Linked DNA regions of Homo sapiens: region 2 is linked to region 1. The links are contacts of gene promoters, found by promoter capture Hi-C in human tissues and cell types (Jung and others, 2019). All regions are on one chromosome and are shown on one strand. The core of a region is centred on a gene start or on the middle of the fragment in contact, and the rest is flanking DNA. Distances in the headings are between cores, read along the strand shown. Region 1 holds the start of ELOVL4 (ELOVL fatty acid elongase 4). Region 2 has its middle 34 kb from the start of BCKDHB.

Region 1 (3,400 bases), core at 375-2,874:
AAACTCCAGGATTCCACAATATAGAAATAGTAATCAAATTTTTAGGTGAAGCTCGAACTAATCCGAACTTTGTTAGATCATCACTGTAAATGAATGGGTATTTATCCACTCCCTAAATGAAGAGACTTGACTGGATTTCTTTTTTTTATATAGCTACTAGAATCTGTTACACATAATTTAGGATTGAGACTTGAGAAATTGTCATTCCAATCCAGAAAACTTTAGATTTGCAAATATATTTGACAAATTAATAAATTAACATTTTATTTGGTTAATTTCAAGAATAGGGCATTTAAAGAAGTCTGTGTTTGCTTTAGTTCGGCAATAAAGTTCCTGCCACTCACAATAATCCTTATTATTCTCTGAAAGACATGTTATATTTTTGTCATCATAAATATTTATTAATTACTGTTTATAGCACTGGGTTAGGTACTCATCAAGCAACCAAAAATAATTCTTACCATCTAGGATGCTTCCAATATAAAATATAGACAATATATAACCAGGTCAATTGGGAAATAGATCATTTCAGTATGATAAAAGATAGTATTCACATTAACAGTGTGAAAGGGCAGGAACAATAAGACACTTGACTCACTGGTCTTTAAAATGTAGCATCCAAAATGAGCAAGTGGAGAAAAGGTTAAACAAGTAGGTGACACATTTAAAAAACAAGTAGATGAAAGGACTATTCTCAAAAATCTTGTTTTATGTGAGAAACCATCAAATTATGAATTCCAAGTACTGTATTTTTTTTACTTTTCAAGGGTAGGCTCTCCTATACCTTATCTAAACAATTTTTCAAAATAGCCACAATTACTTTGTTTTCCTCTCTACACTAAATTGCCCTTTGCCTCTTGAGCGATTATCTTTTTCAGATTCACCTCAACTTCTTCAGGTTCAAGCGGACTTCACCTGTAAGCCCCTCTCGGTTCTCCCTCTTCTCTGAACTACTAATGGCCTAATTTAGCACAATTATATTGCTTTGTTCATTCCATGTATAGTAAAAGAGTCTACAAAACACATGCAAGCATTCATGCAATTATATGTTGATTTGTTCATGGGTCGACCCCAAAGTCTATTCTCCATCGCTGAAGCATGGAAGACAAATACCCTTCACTTCTTCAGAGGCATAACACATGCACTTCTCTTGTCATGGTGACAGGCATGTGCTGGTGGAGGTCAAAGAAACAGGAACACAAGTGAAATCGAGGTGAGTGTCAGGTAAGGACCAAAGCACCACGCCTACCTCATCTTTGCCCACAGAACACCCATTCTTCCCGTGTCCTGTTTCCCAGGACGTATCCGGGGCGGATAAGAAATCACCCGTGGGGAGGCGGTGAACTCCTCCGCAGGGGCCGATGCCCGGGACAGGGGCGGGGAAGGCTAATGAGGCGACTTGTGCGGGGAGGGGCCAAGGAGGAGCCCAGGTGTCCCGCTCCCGCTCGACGGCGCGCGCCTGCGCGAGCCCAGTTGGCGTCGCACCCTTGAGCGCAGCATCCCTACGCCAGCGAGTCCCAATACTAGGGAGGGAGGGAGGGAGGAGGGGCGGCCGGCCCCCCGCCCCCGCGCGCGGCCACGTGACGCCGGCTGAGGAGATTGGAGGGGCGGCTGCGCGAGGCTGCAGACTGGTGCAGCGCACTGTGCTGGCGGCTGGGCCTCCTCCACCTCCTCGTCTTTCTCCCGGGAACCTTGACGACGCCTTCCGCTTGGCCCTGCCTTCTGCCGCATCCCCGCCGCCGCGGCGCCTTGAGGAGCAGGAGAAGACGCAGCCGGGCCGCCGCCGTTAGAGGGGTTCCCGGCCGCCGCTCGCCCCGTCGGCCGCCACCGCCTCCGGGGTCAGCCCTCTCTCTGGGTCTCCGCTTTCTCCTGCCGCCAGCGCCCGCTCATCGCCGCGATGGGGCTCCTGGACTCGGAGCCGGGTAGTGTCCTAAACGTAGTGTCCACGGCACTCAACGACACGGTAGAGTTCTACCGCTGGACCTGGTCCATCGCAGGTAAAGCCGCTGACTTCCCCATCCTCGCTCGGTCCCCCGCGGGGGGTCACCGGCCCCTGGTCTCGCAGCTCCCGGGCCCGGCCCCACAGGCCCCCGCGCCCTGCGGCTTTCGGATGCTGCGGATCAGCGGAGGGGCCGGCGCGGGCACTGCGGTTGAGCACTGGTTAATCTGATCCGAATGTTAAGGCCTCCCCTCCCCCGACACTCGCAGGGTTTTCTTCTGAGCTCCCTCCATCTCTCATCAGCTCTCGGATGCGGGAGCTGACATATCAGATGGAGCCTGTGCAGCCAGGAGCTCCTCGCAGGAGCCGCCCCACCCTGTGCTCCCACATCTCCCGAGCTCGCCTCCCTCTTCCCCGTGCACAGGATTCCTTTTAACATTTAGTCCTATTTTGTATGGAGAGCGGGCTGGGGAGGAAGGAGGGCTTCAGGGGCAGCTGAAGGTACAGGAGGTTTCTTCAGCCTCCTGGTCGCTTTGACAGAACCCTGCTAATCTTTTCTTCTATCTAGCTCCTTCATCTATAGTATAATTCGGACTGAAAAGTAAAATAATATTGTTTGGCTCCTTGAACCTTGAAGAATGTTAGTTTCCGAGGCATTTTCAACAGCAAATATGTTTGAAGTGATTGTCTATAATGGCTTTGCGCACTGCAGTGCAGTCAGGGGGAGGGGGAGGCCAAAACACCGGGGAAGAAATCAGTCTTTAGGAAGGGGGTCTCTACAGCAACACCTAGAGGTTGTCCCAGATGCCTACATATATACAGTTCTTAAATCAGCAAACTTTTCTTTAGCTGTTGCAGTTAATTTGGCAGGGCTGTCAATTGTTTGATTTATGCAGCTTTCCTAGCGTCCAACTGTGATATTATATTTTTACATTGTACTGTTTATTTCTTCATTTGCTTCGCTGCTTTTGATTTTAAAGCATTTAAAAGTCTTTGAAATCTAAAATAAGGTTTAAAGGATTTCAGAAATGATTTTACGAGGTCAATTTTTCTGGTCCTTTTGCAGTATCACACTGCATCCTATCAGTGAAGGATATTAACGTTCCATCTTATGACTCTGCCTTCCCTACTTCGAAATGAAAATGTACTCCTGTAGTTTTTGTGTTCATTGTTGTTAGAGGAAATTAGACAGTGGTTACAGCATGAATGTAGTCCGATACATAGGGCTTATGTTTTGGGAAAAACGTATGCTGGAATTATTTTTGTGAGAGACAAAATGATTATTTGGCATTAATACTGCATTCACTTCTTTAGAAAAGTATGTTCTTTTTCAGAAGATCTCAACTTTGACACTGGGAAATAAGCTATTTAATAAGCCATTACAGCTGAAAATGGTTAAAAGGCAGTTTTCAATGGAGTGTTTCTTCAGTTTTTTTTTTTGTTTCTATGCGCTATTACACT
Region 2 (3,409 bases), core at 115-2,614, 130 kb before region 1:
TATTAACAACCTACACTGCCACTGCCATCCCACAAACTTCTACAGCTTATGCTACTGAGGTGCTCACAGTTATTGTTGACTTTGAACAGCTGCAGAAGCTATTGAAGGGCAGCTTTGCTGGGTATAGTGTTCTTGACTGCACTGTACCTGTCTGAAAATAGAATCACTACATCCTTCCAAACTGGCACACCAAAACCCAACTGCAGATGAAAGTTTTTCTCTACAAGATCCACTCTAGAAGTTTTGGAAGAGGTGATTTTTCCACCAGATGCACAGACATCAACATAGGAGCACACACACACAACATTAAAAAGCAAGAAAAATCTGATACCACCAAAGAAATATAATAACTATCTGGTTACAGACCCAATGAAAGTGAAATCAACAAACTGCTGGAAAAGAAATTCAAAATAGTGATCTTAAGAAAACTCAATGAGATACAAGAAAATATAGACAGGCAATTCAACAAAATCAGAAAAAAATTTATGATACAAATGATAAATTCAACAAAGAGATAAAAATCATTGAAAAAGCCAAGAGAAATACTGCAGCTAATGATTTCTATGAATTGAAGAAATAATAGAGAGCTTCAACAGCAGCCTTGATCAAGCCAATAAAAGAATCTCTGAACTTAGGCCTGGAGCAGTGGCTTATGCCTGTAACCCCAGCACTTTGGGAGGCTGAGGTGGATGGATCACGAGGTCAGGAGTTCAAGACCATCCTGGCCAATATAGTGAAACCCTGTCTCTACTAAAAATACAAAAATTAGGTGGGCATGTGGCATGTGCCTGTAGTCCCAACTGCTCGGGGGGCTGAGGCAGGAGAATCGCTTGAACTCAGGAGGCAGAGGTTGCAGTGAGCCGAGATCGTGCTACTGCACTCCAGCCTGGGCAACAGAGCAAGATTCTGTCTCAAAAAAAAAAAAAAAAAAAAAGATCTCTGAACTTGAAGATAGGTTATCTGAAATTACCCAGCCAGAAAAAATAAAGGAAATAAGAATGAAAGAGAATAAAGAAAGGCTACAAGACTTATAGGACCCCCCATTAAGTGAACAAATGTTCTCATTTATGGGAGTTCCAGATGGAAAAGAGAAGGAAAATGGTGTAGAAAAACCTATTTAATAAAATAATAGCTAAAATTGTTCCAAGCTGGGGAGAGATATGGATATCCAGATCTAGGAGATCTAGGAGTTCAAAGGTCTCCAAAAAGATTCAGTCTAAAAATCTACTCCCTGTGGCACTTTATAGTCAAACTATCAAAAGTCAAAGACAAAGAGAATTCTAAAAACATCAAGATAAAAGCATTAAGTCACACATAAAGGAATCCCCATTAGACTAACGCATATTTCTTTGCAGTACCCTTACAGACTAGAAGAAAATGAATTATTTGATGAATTATTTGAAGTGCTGAAAGGAGAAAAACCTGCCAGTCAAGAACACTATACTCAGCAAAGCTACCTTTCAGACACGAGAGAAATAAAGCCTTTTCCAGACAAGCAAAAACTGAGGGAATTTATCACCACTATCCTAGTCTTGCAAAAATCCTTAAGCGAGTCCTACATCTTAAAGTGAAAAGATGGCTATCATGAAACCACGCAAAAGTATAAAACTCAGTGGTAGAGCAGATATACAAAGAGAAAATAATGAAACCCTATCACTACAGAAAACCACTAAACCACAATGATAAACAAGGAAGAAAGGAACAAAGGATATGCAAGACAACTGGAAAACAATTAATATAGTGACATGAATCTTCACCTATCAATAACAACCTTGAATGTAAATTAATTACATTCCCCACCTTAAAGATATAAAATGACTCAACTGTGTGCTGCCTACAAGAAATTCACTTCATCTGCAAAGACACATATAAACCGAATGTGAAAGAGATGGAAAAGGATAGTCTATGCAAACAGAAACCAAAAACAAGCAGGAGTAGCTATGCTTATTTCAGATAAAATAATTTTAAGTCAAAAACTCTAAAAAGAGACAATGAAGTTTAAAAGATGATAAAGGGATAAATTCAGCAAGAGAATATAACAATTGTAAATATATATGCACCCAACATCAGAGCACCTAGATACATAAAGCAAATATTATCAGATCTAAAGAGAGAGATAGACCCCAAAACAATAACAGCTGGGGACTTCAACCCCTTTTTACTCTTTATTAGGAGGTCATTATTCACTACATTTTAGTATAACGGTTAAGAGTTCAGGATCTGGTATTATATTATACTAGCTTGAACCTACTTGCAGATGGCCTTGGGTAAGCTTGTGATTCAGTTTCCCCATCTTCAAAATGAGGAGTATAGTAGTCACTAACTCCATGACTTGTGAAGGTTAATTGAGAATATTTAGAATAGCACCTGGCATATAGTAGGGGCTCAATACATTTTAGCCATTACTATCTTTTTTTGTATTGGCCATTCATACACTTATTCAACTTGGATTTTTTGTATAACCTACATTTGCAAAATGGTTGACTGGCAAAGCTTTAAATCATTAAGTTTGTGTGTGGGTGGGTGGAGCGGGGGGCAGTGAGGAATTCTATTACTTCTAACTAACCAGTTGCACTTTCAGTAGTTTGGTGCATTACCAGACCCAGTGGTCACCATATTGATAGTAACCAGCATAGACAGCAGCATAGCACGCTGAAATTCAGAAGAGTTAGACTCAAGCCATTTTTCAGCCTCAACTTCTGACTTCAACAATATATTTGTGTCCAAGAATAGAAAGGCAAAACACATAGCCTGACTAAAGAAACATTATACACTCTCTTACAGTCAAATTAAGTGTAGTTTAAAGTGTTATTTTCAGGACCTTGACTTTTAAATAATGATGATAAGTGACAGTATTTCTACTTTCACACATAACTACTTATGTGAGGTAGTTACTTTTACATATGAATTCTTATTTCATTTTGGTCTTCTGTGTTCCCTTTTCCCATAAATGTCACTCCCACAATGCCCAGCTAGAAACCAGTAACTGCCCTAGGCATTTCCCTTTTCCATCTTCTTCACTTACAGTGACCATTCTGTTTATTTTACTTATTTACTTAATCTATCCTTTCCTCTCCATCCCTTATCCACTGCCATAGTTTAAGCTCTCACTACCTCCCTCCTGGCCTTTAGCAATAATCTACTGGTTTATATCTCCACTATTCCATTTTTCTCAAAGAATTAGAACATTTTAAAGTACAAATAGAGACAAGATCTTGTGTCTATCCTGCTTCAAAGGCTTTAAAAATTCCCCATTGGTGACAGGAAAAGAACCATCTCCTTAGCATGATATACACAGTCCTTCATGTCTGGACTCTACACCCAACTCTACCATCAGCTCCTGCTGTGCTCCCATTATCTTTCTGGACACAGATATTGTCTGTCTTATTTTTGTATCGCAGCATTTATT

The links. The method cuts DNA at HindIII sites, captures the fragments that hold promoters and counts their contacts. A contact is called where the count stands out against the background at its distance.
Region 2: a fragment that was not itself captured here is called in contact with the fragment with the promoter of ELOVL4 in region 1 in 4 of the 25 tissues and cell types used here (H1 embryonic stem cells, mesenchymal stem cells, small bowel and 1 more).

The regions. Positions count from the first base shown.
Region 1 is chr6:79,945,777-79,949,176 of GRCh38, reverse strand. It overlaps ELOVL4 (ELOVL fatty acid elongase 4), which reads left to right and starts at 1,624. Exons shown (of 6, transcript NM_022726.4): 1 at 1,624-1,997. The coding sequence starts at 1,898. LOC124901350 reads left to right here. Exons shown (of 2, transcript XM_047419628.1): 2 at 1,166-1,790. The coding sequence starts at 1,362. The coding sequence ends at 1,790. LOC124901351 (a long non-coding RNA gene) reads right to left here and starts at 1,372. Exons shown (of 3, transcript XR_007059656.1): 1 at 1,250-1,372. RefSeq lists a silencer at 1,515-1,564. The HindIII fragment of the contact is 11,635 bases long and covers 1-3,400 here.
Region 2 is chr6:80,071,259-80,074,667 of GRCh38, reverse strand. No RefSeq gene overlaps it. Among named protein-coding and RNA genes, the nearest start is that of BCKDHB, 34 kb to the left of the region's middle. The HindIII fragment of the contact is 4,838 bases long and covers 1-3,409 here.